2 separate regions of the Homo sapiens genome follow, and region 1 is linked to region 2. The links are contacts of gene promoters, found by promoter capture Hi-C in human tissues and cell types (Jung and others, 2019). All regions are on one chromosome and are shown on one strand. Each heading gives the region's core, a stretch centred on a gene start or on the middle of the fragment in contact. The rest is flanking DNA. Distances are from core to core; before and after follow the strand shown.

Region 1 (6,855 bases), core at 1,988-4,487, 310 kb before region 2:
AAATGAAGAAAGGATTCCAGAAAAGGGGTAGAAAGCCTTATGGCAGTTGGTGCACCAGTTCATGCTTCTGCACATTCACAGTATAGTATGGAGAAATTGGGAGGAAATCTTCAAACTGAGGGTCCTTCCTCAGAACAGAAACAAAAGAGCAGACTTTGCACTCAAAGTTCTGGCATGTAGGGGGGCTGTCTGAGAGTCTGGTTTTGCTTGACTTAGAGCAGAGGCAGGATCAGACGCTGCTGAAAACAAAGTCTAGCAGCACATTAGATGTGCAGTTCTACAGGCAGATGCCAGGGGGAGCAAGAGATCAGAAAAGGTTTGAAAGGTGCTTGAACAGATAAGTAGACTGACTGGTGACGGGTTCCACCTGAACAAATCCAGTATGCAGACTGTTAGAGGTGGGTGCTTTTTCAAATGCCCAAATCCCAGCCAAAAAAGAAAAAAATTTACAAGATGTACAAAGAAACACGGAAACATAACCCAATCAAAGGAGCAAACTAAAACTACATAAACCAACCCTAAAGAAATGCAGATGTATGAGTTATTTGACAAACAATTTAAAATAACTGTCATAAAGATACTCAATAAACTAAAAGAGAACAGATAGACAACTAAATGAAATCAGAAAAACAACATATGAACAAAATGTGAATATCAAACAGAGATAGAAGCTATACGAAGAACAAAACAACAATTCAGCAGTTGTATGTCAATAAATTGGATAACCTAAAAGAAATGGATAAATTCCTAGAAACACACACCCTACCTAGACTGAATCATGAAGACATAGAAAATCTGAAGAGATCAGAAACTTGTAAATTATTGAAACAGTAATCAAAAATCTCTCCACAAAGAAAAGCCCAGGACCAGATGACTTCACTGGAGAACTCTACCAAACATTTAAAGAAGAATTCAAGTCAATTTCAAGAGAATTCACATCAATTCTGAAACTCTTCCAAAAAATTAAAGAGGAACACTTCTAAGCTCATTCTATTAGGCTCTGATACCAAAACCAGACAAAGAAATTACAAGAAAAGAAAACTACAAACCAGTATCCCTAATAAATATTGATGTAAAAATCCTCAAGAAAATACTAGCAAACTGTTCAACAGCACATTAAAAGGATTATATGCCATGACCAAGTGGGACTTATTCATGAAAAGCAAGGAGAGTTTTGCATACAAAATTTAATCAATGTAATATACCACAATAACAGAATGGAAGACAAAAATGACATCATCATCTCAATTGATAGAGAAAAAACATTTGACAAGATTCAACACCCTTTCATGATAAAAATCATTCAATAAACCTGGACAGGAAGGAAACTACCTCAACATAAGAAAAGCCATTTATGAGGCCAGGCACAGTGGCTCATGCCTCTAATCCCAATGCTTTGAGAAGCCGAGGCGTGTGGATCACTTGAGGTCAGGAGTTCGAGACCAGCCTGGCCAACATGGTGAAACCCATCTCTACTAAAAATACAAAATTAGCAGGCGTGGTGGTGCACACCTATAGTCCCAGCTACTCAGGGGGCTGAAGCAGGAGAATCACTTGAACCTGGGAGGCAGAGGTTGCAGAGAGCTGAGATCCTGCCACCGTACTCCAGCCTGGTCAACAAAGCAAGACTCTGTCTCAAAAAAATAAAATAATAATAAAAGCCACTTATGAAAAGCCTACAGCTAACATTACACTCAATGGTGAAAGACTGAAAGCTCTTCTTCTAAGATAAGGAAAAAGGCTTAATAACTGCTCTCCCCACTCCTATTCAACATAGTATTGGAAGTCATAGCCAGAACAATTAAACAAGAACAGAACAATTAGGAAAGAAAAAGAAATACAGACGGGTGCAGTGGCTCACGCCTGTAATCCTAGCACTTAGGGAGGCCGAGGCAGGCGGATCACGAGGTCAGGAGTTGGAGACCAGCCTGACCAACATGGTGAAACCCCGTCTCTACTAAAAATACAAAAATTAGCCAGGCGTGGTGGCATATGTCTGTAATCCCAGCTACTCAGGAGGCTGAGGCAGGAGAATTGCTTGAACCCAGGAGGCAGAGGTTGCAGTGAACCGAGATCATGCTATAGTACTCCAGGCTGGGTGACAGAGCGAGACTCTGTCTCAAAAAAAAAAATAGATAAATAAAGAAATACAAGAAATCCAAATTGGAAAGGTGTTAAAATTATCACTGTTCACAGATGACACGATTTTATATGTAAAAAACTCTAAAGATTTCGCACCAAAAGAAACCTTGTTAGAATTAATAAATTCAGTATAAATTGCAGGATACAAAATTGACACAAAAAAACCCATTGTATTTCTATATACTAACAATGGACAATCTGAAAAGGAAATTAAGAAAACGATTCCATTTATAATAATATCAAAAAGAATAAAATGCTTGGGAATAACCTAACCAAGGAAGTGAGAAGCTTATACATTGAAAACTAGAAAATATCACTATTACTAAATGAAATTAAAGTTGACACAAATAAATGGAAAGGCTCCCAGTGTTTGGGGATTGGAAGATTTAATATTGTTAAGATGGACATACTACCCAAAAGCAATCTACAGATTCAAAGCAATTCTTATCAAAAAATACAACAGCATTTTTTGTAGCAATAAAAAAATTCATCTTAAATCATCTTAAAATCAATATGGAATCTCAGGGGATCCCAAAAAGCCAACACAATTTTGAAAAAGGAGGAGATATTTGGAGGACTCATACTTTTGATTTCAAAACATACTACAAAGCTACAGTAATCAAAACAGTGTGATACTGGCATAAAGACAGACAATAGACCAAAAGAATAGGATAGAGAGCCCAGAAATAAATGCTCGTATATACAGTCAAATAATCTTCAACAAGGGTGCCAAGACCACTCAGTGGAGGAAGGACAGTCTCCTCAACAAATGTTGTTGGGAAAATTGAACATCCACATGCAAAAGAATAAAAATGGGCCCTTATCTTACACCATACACAAAACTTAACTCAAAATAGATTGAAGACCTAAATGTAAGACCAAAAATAATACAATTCCTAGAAAAAAAAATCTTCATGATTAGGATTTGCCAATAATTTCTTAGATATGACACTAAAAGCACAGCCAGCAAGAGCAAAATAGGCAAATTGGAATATATCAAAGTTTAAAACTTTTGTTTATCAAAGGACACAATCAACAGAGTGAAAAGGTAACCCACAGAATGGGAGAAAATCATTGGAAATCATAGATCTAATAAGGGGTTAATATCCAGAATATATAAAGAATTCCCACAACTCAGCAACAACAACAACAAAAATACAAATAACCCAATTAAAAAATGGACAGGCCAGGCACAGTGGCTCATGCCTGTAATTTCAACACCTTGGGAGGCTGAGGCAGGCGGGTCGCTTGAGCTCGGGAGTCTGAGACTAGCCCAGGTGACACGGCAAAAAGCCGTCTCTACAAAAAATATAAAAATTAGCTGGGTGTGATGGTGCACACCTATAGTCCCAGCTACTCAGGAGGCTGAAGTGGGAGAATCACTTGAGCACAGGAGGTTGAGGCTGCTGTGGGCCGAGATCACACCACTGCACTCCAGCCTGGGCAACAGAGTGGAACCCTGCCTGAAAAAGAAAAGGTGGGTAGGGGTAAAGGATTTGAATAGACATTTGTCATAAGATGACATACAGATGGTCAACACACATGTGAAAAGATGCTCAGCATCAGGGAAATGCAAATGAAAACTTCAATGAGGAGATCACCTCACACCCATCAGAATGACTACTATTAAAAAAAATAGTAAGCGCTGGCAAGTGCTATGGTTTGAATATTTGTCCTCCAAAACTCATGTTGTAATTTAATCCCCAATGTGGTAGTATTGAGAGGTGGAGCCTTTAAGAGGTTATTGGGTCATGAAGGCTCTGCGTTCATTAGTGGATTAATGGACTAATGGATTAATGGGTTAGCATGGGAATGAGACTAGTGGCTTTATAAGAAGAGGAGGAGAGACTTGAACTAGGATACTCAGCTTCCTTGCCAGGTGATGCCCTGTGCCATCTTGGGACTACAGAGAATCCCCGTCAGCAAGAAGGCTCTCACCAGATGCAGGCTTTTGACTTTGGACATCTCAGCCTCCATAACTCTAAGAAATAAATTCCTTCCAGCCTGGGTGATGGAGCAAGACCCTGCCTCCAGAAAAAAAAAAAAAGGAAAAAGAAATTTCTTTTATCCATGCAGTTTTAGGTATTCTGTTATAAACAACAGAAATCAGACTAAGATAGCAAAACATGGAGAAATTGGAACCCTTGCACATTGCTGATAGAATTGTACAATGATGCAACCACTATACAAAACCATATGGAGATTCCTAAAAAATGTTAAGATAGAACTGCTATATGAGCCAGGAATCCCACTTCTGGGTTTATATGCAAAAGAATTGAAAGTAGGGATAGCCAGGTGCAATGGCTCACACCTATAATCCTAGCACTTGGGAAGGCTGAGGCAGGAGGATCACTTGAGCTCAGGAGCTCAAGGGCAGCCTGGGCAACATAGTGAGACCTCATCTCTACAAAATTTTTAACATTAGCCAGGTATAGTGGTGCATGCCTGTCCCAACTACTGAGGAGGCTGAGGCTGGAGGAAACTCCTTGAGCCTGAGAGGTTGAGGGTGCAGTGAGATATAATCATGCCACCGCACTCCAGCCTGGGCGACAGAGCAAGACCCCATATCAAGAAAAGAAAGGAAGGAAGGAAGGAAGGAAGGGAGGGAAGGAGGGAGGGAGGGACAAGGAAAGGGAAGGGAAGAGTCTCGATGAGATATTTGATGCCCATATCCACAGCAGTACCATTCAGAACAGCCAAGAAGTGGAAGCAACCCAAATGTCCATCAACTGATGAACGAATAAACAAAACATAGTATATACCTACAATGAAATATTATTCAGCCTTAAAAAAGGGAAGTGGTGTCACATGCTACAACATGAACGAACCTTGTGGACATTATGCTAAGTGAAATAAGCCAACAACAAAAAGACAAATAGTATATGATTTTACTTACATAAGGTACTTAGAGTAGTCAAATTTATAGAAGCAGAAAGTAGAATGGTGGTTAACAGAAGCTAAGAGGAGGAGGAAAAAGAGTTATTTAATGGGTATAGAGTTCAGATTTGTAAGATAAAAAAGTTCTGGAGATCTGTTTCACAATAATATGAATATATTTAACACTACTGAACTGAACATTGTTTAAATTGTTAAGATGGTAAAGTATATGTTATGTATTTTTTTTACCACAATAGAAAAAAATTCTGTGGAGACCTTCAAGAACCTAATGAAAGTTATGCCCCTAACCTTGCCAGAAAAATACATAGACATTGTATATAATTTCAGGGAGTCAAAGGACATCCACTGGGAGAGATGCATAGGTAAGAACTGCTAGGCTAGGCTAAGCTTTATACTTGAAAGATAAGAAAAATAAGGAACAGAGAAGGCAAATTATTTTCTCCAAGATCTCATTGCTCAACAGTAACAAAGCTTGCTTTAGACCCCGGGTATTCTGATTCATGATCTGGTGCCTTTTCTACCGCTGCATGTTGCTTCTTATATTGGGGGCTATATAACCACTAAAAATTGGGCAAAAAGTCGAACTGAAATTCATTTGCAACAAAGGCCTCAGCTGACCCTATGAGGAGCTCTGGAGCTGAGAAGGCCAATCATAGTTGTCTGAAGTTGGAGAGGGGCTAGAAAGTGGGATCAGGAGTCTGGTCCTTCTTTCTTACCCATTAGCCAGTCAATAAATGCAGCTGCTCAGAAGGCATGTGACCTTGGGCCAGGAAGATCTCTTCAGGACCTCAGTTGAGACCCATCAGTCATCAATACTCCCAGCAGGACAGTGGGATGTATACCTGGATCCTGGGGAAGGGGGAATTTGGGCAAGGCAGGATTACTTCCAATACAGTGGGTATGGGAACACTTGCAACAAGCCTTCTCTTCCTTTTCAAATAACCTCAACATTTTAAAGTCATATTTTCCTCTTGTTTCTTCATGCTTCTTGAAGAACTAAGGACAACCCATAGATTATCAAGAGCAGAAAGAATGCAGCTATGATGACTCAAGCTTATCTGCGAGGCATCTGAGGACTCCTCTAAACACTGTAATGACAATTGACCTTGACAAAATTGGGGAGTCTGTTTCCGAAAATAGTCTCTGGGGGATCCCAAGAGTAATGGGATGAAATTGATCGAGCAATGCACTGCTTCGCTTTATAGGCTTTCCATTTGTCACACAAATTATAATGAATACTTATTGCTTGATTTACATTTCGGCCTTCACACTCTTTGCAGCTCCTGCCATGTTTACATGCACCATCTGGAAGAACTAATGAGTCAAGAAGCACCAGAAATTATAATTTGCTCTGACTAAACCTAGAAGATTTTTACTGGCAATAAAATGATTTTGCTTTTTATTTCCCCTGGAATTGCAAGGAGATTAAAACATGAGTTTCACTGAGTTTAGGGCAGAAATATGCAAAGCAAATTTTAATAGAATGAACCTGCAGGCATCTGGCATTCCTTATCAATTCAGAATAATTTAGTCATTATAGCAACAGTCTCATGATAGAAAGTCTCCTCTGACACTGGAATTCTTAAAAATGATTACCTAGCCTGTACTCAAATGTCACAGTGGGTCTCAGTGGGCATAAGAGGGAACACACAGGAATGCTAAGTAGCTTAGAGTTTAAGAACTTGGTCTATGTCTCCCATGGCCTTACAGCTCACATCTGGCATTTATGATTGATATGACACTGGACAGGTCACCTAACCTCTTTATATATGAGGTACTTTGTATACAAAACAGAGATAATAATAGGAACCATAT
Region 2 (6,955 bases), core at 2,170-4,669:
TGAGACGGAGTCTCACTTTGTCGCCCAGGCTACAGTGCAATGGCGCAATCTCAGCTCACTGCAACCTCTGCCTCCCAGGTTCAAGCGATTCTCCTGCCTCAGCCTCCCAAGTAGCTGGAACTACAGGCACCTGCCACCACGCCCAGCTAATTTTTGTATTTTTAGTAGAGAAGGGGTTTCACCATATTGGCCAGGCTGGTCTCGAACTCCTGATCTTGTGATCCTCCTGCCTCGGCCTCCCAAAGTGCTGGGATTATAGGCGTGAGCCACGGCACCCAGCCTATCATTAGTTCTTATACGTTTGGGATAAGCGGTGGAGTTAGGAGCAATTTTTTTGTGGGCAGGGGGTGGATCTCACAACGTACATTCTCAAGGGCAGGGAGAATATTACAAAGTACGTTATCGCAAGGGCGGGGAGGGTGTATTGTCATACGGTCAATTGATCAGTTAGGGTGGGGCAGGAACAGATCACAATGGTGGAATGTCATCTTTTGTGGTTCTTCAGTTGCTTCAGGCCATCTAGATGTATATGTGCAGGTCACAGGGGATATAATGGCTAAGCTTGGGCTCAGAGGCCTGACACGCTGCGGTGAGCCTTGATTGTGCCAGTGCACTCCAGTCTGGGTGACAAAGCAAGACACTATCTCAAACAAACAAACAACAACAAAACAACCAGAAGGCCGGGCGCAGTGGCTCACGCCTGTAATCCCAGCACTTTGGGAGGCAGAGGTGGGCGGATCACCTGAGGTCAGGAGTTCTAGACCAGCCTGACCAATATGATGAAATCCCATCTCTACTAAAAATACAAAAAAATTAGTCAGGTGTGGTGGAATGCACCTGTAATCCCAGCTACTCAGGAGGGTGAGACAGGAGAATCGCTCCAACCCAGGAGGTAGAGGTTGCGGTGAGCCAAGATCGCACCATTGCACTCCAGCCTGGGCAATAAGAGGGAAACTCTGTCTCAAAACAAAAAAAAAAAAAAAAAAAAAGAAAGAAAAAAAAAACCAGAGCTCCTATGGAAACACAATAACTTTATTTAAAAATTGGTAAAGAACTTGAATATACATTTCCCCAAAGAAATATGCAAATGGTCAATAAGCACATGAAAACGTGTTCCATCAATATAATTAGGGAGATGCAAATAAAAAGTCATGAAACACCATTTCACACTCACTGACACGGTTATAATAAAAAGTTCAGATAAGTGTTGGCAAGGATGTGGAGAATCCTGCTGGGGAGGGGAGTAAAATGGGACAGCCACTTTAAAAAAATCTGGCAGTTCCTCAAATAGTTGAAAATAGAGTTCCATAAATACAGAAATCCCTTGGTATCTGCAGGGTGGACTGTTTCGAAGACCCCTGTGGACTCCAAAATTGACAGATGCTCTTCTTGCAGTCAGCCCTGTGGAATCCGCCCATAGGAAAATTCCTCTTATCCTCAGGTTCTGCAACCTGGGAATACTGTAATTTTTGATATGTGGTTGGTTGAATTGGAGGATGCAGAACCCACAGATAGGGAGGGCTGACTGTATACTACTGGGCACATGCCCAAGAGAAATGAAAACGTATTTGCACAAAAATGTGTACATGAATGTTCATAGCAACGCCAAAAGGTAAAAACTTTTTGATAAATAAAATGTGGCATATACATACAATGCAATATTATTCAGCCAAAAAAGGAATGAAGTACTGACACATACTACAAAATGGATGAACGTGTTACAGGTGGCAGGTATCCAAGTTACCAGGGCAAATCTGTATGGGTCTGCAGCAACTTCAGTTCTTGCCTCCTCAGAAGAAAGAATTTGACCGAGGGGCAATAAGGCACAAAAAGAGACTGAGGCAAGTTTCAGAGCAGGAGTGGAAGCTTATTTAAAAGGCCTTTAGGAAAGAAAGGAAAGCACGCTCGGAAGAGTCCCAAGCTGTCACTGAGGTCAACTGTGATATTGACCTCGATCCTAGGACTTTACAGGCTGGCTCCTTTCCCATGATTCTTCCCTTAGGGTGGGCTGCCTCCATGCGCAGTGCCCTCCTTACCCTTGGGAAGTGAGCACAGCGCAATATGTATGAAGTTGTATGCGTGCCCATCTGAGGCTTTCTTCCCTTTTCCGATAGAGTCCCCCTGAAAGGTCATACTCCCCGATTTTGTCTCTTAATGCATATGCCCAGGAAGTTGCTTCTCCCTGTCACCTGCATTCAACGAGCACTTTAGTGCAACAGGTGTGGGCCATCAGGAAATGGCCTCTCCCTGGCACCGGCTGCCAATTTATCACTTTTAGAGGCAATGTGATAAATGCCTAAGCATCACCCCACATTCCTAGTGGGTGAGGGAAGAGCCCTCTCCTGCCCTGCTCATGCCTAACTACCTGTAACAAACCTTGTAAACATTAAGCCAGCCACCAAAAGACCATATAATTCCGTTTATATTAAATGTCCAGATTAGTTAAATCTAGAGAGACAAAGTAGGTTCTTGGTTGGCTAGGGCTGGAGGAGTTGGGAGGATCAGGGGTGATAGCTAAAAAGTACAAGTTTCTTCTTTCGAGTGGTAAAAATGCTCTCAAATAGTGGTGATGGTTGCCCAAGCCTGTGAATATACCAAAAATCACTGAACACTTCAAATGGGTGAATTATATGGCATGTGATTACAGTCTAATAAATAAATAGTATGTCCTGCTGTATCCTTCAGGGCCTCTGAGAAATGGAGAGAGCTCCATCTGAAGCCAGACTGAGTTCCGATCCTGCTTCTATTTTCCCCGCAGGTAAATCCTTCCTCAACAGCAACACGGGGTGATACGCCCTATCCGGAAAGGTTGTTGTAATTTTTAAAAACATTAAAAACATACATTAGGGTTAATCATGTAGCGTGTGATACACAGACGCTCTGAAACACTACTGCACACGCACACCAACATGGGGCCTCTGCGGAGCTTGTGAAAGAACCAGATCTGGAGGGCTGGTCGTGTCCCTGGTCTCGGCCCTCGCCCTCCTTGTTTCTTAGGCTCTAAAGCAATCAGGCAGCAGAGCAGTCCTTGAACCCCAGTCAAGAAAAAGCCCTGCACCCCTTAGTCCGAAAGCCGCAAGGAACGGGGCCTAAGCGCCTGGCGAGGCCGCCCTACCGGGCAGAGACAGTTGCTACGTAACTCGGGGACCAGAAACCCAGCCCCACCCGCTGCGGTTAACCGACAGCCGCAACGGTTCCCGCACCGCCCGGGTCGGAGAACAATGCTGCGCCCTGCACGTAGAGCCTCGCGGTGCCGCGCCCTGGGGCGGGCCTGCCCATGGCCTGCCGGGAAATGTAGTTTCTGATGCCCTGCCCGCGCCGCCTCGCCGCTCGCCGGCCGGGCGCCCCAAGCAACTACAACTTCCATCACGCTCTGCGAGGCCTTGATCTGCAGGCTTTTGCAGGGGAAGGAGTGGGGCGAACATGGCTGAAGGAAGCCGAGGTGGCCCTACGTGTAGCGGGGTGGGTGGCAGGCAGGACCCAGTCTCCGGCAGTGGCGGCTGCAACTTTCCAGAGTATGAGCTTCCCGAGCTAAATACGCGCGCTTTCCATGTGGGCGCCTTTGGGGAGCTGTGGCGGGGCCGTCTGCGCGGGGCCGGGGACTTGTCGCTGAGGGAGCCGCCGGCATCCGCTCTGCCTGGGAGCCAGGCAGCTGACTCCGACCGGGAGGATGCCGCGGTGGCCAGGGATCTGGACTGCAGCCTGGAGGCGGCGGCTGAGCTGAGGGCGGTGTGCGGGTGAGTGCGGAGCAAAGGGGCTCTTGCAGCTTGGGGTCAAACAGGGTGCAGCCTTGCTCGTGCGCTCCTCTGGGACTCATCCCTGAGAAGGGCCTGTGGTTTAGACCTGGGCTAGGAGTATTACCCTTTAAAGCTTTCAACCCGCTGGAGCCTTCCTGGGACACCAGGAGAAGTCCTGGGACCCGAATGCACAGTTTCTACGAGTTGGAGCAAAGGGACAAGACAGCTGCATCAAAGACTAGTTTTTCCATTTGCTTATTCTAAGAGTGCTTGTTAATAAAGAAAAGCAATCAGGGCAACAGCGACGTGTACCTGCCATTGACAGACACTTTGACAATGGAGGAACCTGAGTAATGGTGAAGCTGCGGGAGACTTCATCAGAGGAGTGTTAAAACCCCGACTAACTGGTTTCTTTTGGGGACCTTCCGGGTATTCTGTTACTGAAATATTTCTTAAAAGTGCCTTATTTGGGGATGAAAATATAAAAATAACTTTAATCTCTTTCTCCATTTAACAGTACTGGCTGCCTTCATCGGCCTTTTCATTATAAAATATAATCACAGAAATCGTTGTCTTAAGTTCTGGCCTCTCTGAGCCGCCTGCTGGATTTTATCTGACTTCGTAATTCAGTAATGTATTTAGGAAAACAACCCTAACTCGCTGTGAACCAGATGCAGAGTCGACCTTAAAGTATTGCTTTTCCTTTTTGTTTTAGCCTTGATAAACTGAAATGCCTTGAGGACGGTGAGGATCCAGAAGTCATTCCGGAGAATACTGACCTGGTGACTTTGGGGTATGGAGGACTTGGTTTTTATGACCTATTTATTTAAACATTTTTTCAACATTATGTTTTGAAAAGTTGAAAGTGCAGTATTGATTGTTGTCTGTATACCCACCCCTTAAATTCAGCTGTTCTTAATATTTGACCATATTTACTTTAGCCGTGTGTATGGGATGCCTGCTGTGTGTTTTTTCATTTTGCTATCCCCCATTCAGTAAGTTAGACATGATAATTTACCCGTAAATACATAAGCATATAGCTTCTAAAAGTATCATTCTCCTACATAATTATTGTGGTATTATTATACCTAAGAAAACCGTAAATACATAATCTATAATATTCAGTCCATATTCAAACTTGTGTTTATTTTTTAATATTTTTGAATGTTTGTTTATAGAGGTAATCTACTTAGATCTGGGGGGCAACCTAAATACTCTGACAGTGTTTTTCAAACTATTTGTGGTAAAGGACAGTTCTTGTTTTTAAAAATTTTTAATCTTTGACAGATTTATGCTTTGATAAAATACTATAAAAAGAATTACTAGAAAAATGGAATTAAAAAAGACAAACACAATATAAGTTCAAATTTTTAATTAAATTCAATAGACAAAATTATTCAATGATAATGGAAGTTTCTAAATGCTTACTGTCATTTTCTGTACAGATTGGTTAACAAATAGGTCATAGATGAATTCTGGTCTGCCTACCACTCTTTGAGAGGCACTGTTGTATGATAATATAGAGAAATTGTGCATGTAATAGTGAAATTTATAATTTCCAATTTATAGTCCACTTATTTCATACTACCTCAGCTATGTTCTGTCGTTCTTGATCCTACGCTATTATCCCCCTCAAATATTCAGGCAGTCATTTCAACTCTACTTGGGTTTTCTTTCATAATAACTGCTAAATCTGTTCCCCTGGTCCCTACTGCTGACTTTTACAGCAGCAACACCTGGAGCACTGTGCAAGGTTCTTAAGTGTCTTTGATAAGTACAGTCATTTCTCCCACTGATTTATCCATCATGCTGTCGCCTGAGCAAGCCATTTTGCTTAAAAATGGTCTATGGCCCTACATCTCCTATATGGAAAAATTTCAAACTCCTTAGCTAGACATTTGAAGCCTTCCACATATATCCCAAATTTGCCTTTCCAGATTTATTTTCAACCACTTTCTCTTTCAGATGGCTCAGGATGCATGTGGCCTCTCTCCCATCTGAAACATACCACTTCTATGTTATGTTATGTTACGTTATTTTTTTGAGATGCAGTCTCACTCTGTTGCCCAGGCTGGAGTGCAGTGGCGTGATCTCTGCTCACTGCAACTTCTGCCTCCGGGTTCAAGCGATTCTCCTGCCTCAGCCTCCGGAGTAGCTGGGATTACCGGTGCCTGCACCCTCGGCTGCCTAACTTTTTTGCATTTTTTGTAGAGACGGGTTTCACCATGTTGGCCAGGCTGGTTTCAACTCCTGACCTCATGTGATCTGCCCAACTCGTTCTCCCAAAGTGCTAGGATTACATGCGTGAGCCGCCACACCTTGCCCATACCACTTTTTTAAAAGCCCAAAGATTCCTTTCCAGATTACCACAACCCATCTTTCCCTTAGGAAACAGATGCATTTATACTGCCTTAAACTCTTAACATTTCTAAAGTCCTTGAAGGCTCAATGAGAGTCCAAACTCCCATCTGTGTATTGTTCTCAAGCCTACTATACTGCCTTGCTCCAATTGGTGCTCTGTAACTATTGTTGATTGATTAGTTGTATTTGTCTAAAATGCACATCTGATTGTCACTCCCTTGCCTAAAACCTTTTGATGTCCCTTAGGCTGAAGTCCTGAGTCTGTAGTGGCTCACAAAGGCCTCTAAGGAGTGGACCTTGCTGTTTTCATTTTGTTTTGTTTTTGAGATGGAATTTCACTCTTGTTGCCCAGGCCTGAGTGCAATGGTGCGATCCCGGCTCACGGCAACCTCCGCCTCCTAGGTTCAAGTGATTCTCCTGCCTCAGCCTCCCAAGTAGCTGGGATTACAGGCATGTGCCACCACGCTTAATTTTGTATTTTTAGTAGGGACGGAGTTTCTCCATGTTGGTCAGGCTCCATGTTGGCCAACCTCTCGTGATCCACCCACCTCGGCCTCCCAAAGTGTTGGGATTACAGATATGAGCCACCGCACCTGGCCCGACCTTGCTGATTTTTTTTAAGCTTTCTCTCTGCAGTGTTCCAGCCACACTGCACTGTGTTTCAGTTCCTCGAATATGCTCTCTCACTCCAGGCCTTTGCCCAGAACAGTCATTCTTGCTTATCTCCTGACCTTGTTGACTTCTACTCATCCTGCAAGTCTTAGCTAAAGGACTACGGACTCCATTTAGGTCATCTTGTATGCTCATGTAGCACCCTATGCTTCCCTATTGAAATGCTCATCACATCTGTAATATAC

What was found. Contacts are between HindIII fragments. The study calls those that stand out against the background at their distance.
Region 1: a fragment that was not itself captured here is called in contact with the fragment with the promoter of SNAPC3 in region 2 in 1 of the 25 tissues and cell types used here (H1 embryonic stem cells).

What each region holds. Positions count from the first base shown.
Region 1 is chr9:15,104,718-15,111,572 of GRCh38, forward strand. No RefSeq gene overlaps it. Among named protein-coding and RNA genes, the nearest start is that of FREM1, 200 kb to the left of the region's middle. The HindIII fragment of the contact is 4,463 bases long and covers 1,007-5,469 here.
Region 2 is chr9:15,419,457-15,426,411 of GRCh38, forward strand. SNAPC3 (small nuclear RNA activating complex polypeptide 3) reads left to right here and starts at 3,420. Exons shown (of 9, transcript NM_001039697.2): 1 at 3,420-3,737; 2 at 4,453-4,530. The coding sequence starts at 3,424. RefSeq lists a silencer at 3,147-3,436 and an enhancer at 3,777-3,896. The HindIII fragment of the contact is 4,082 bases long and covers 1,214-5,295 here.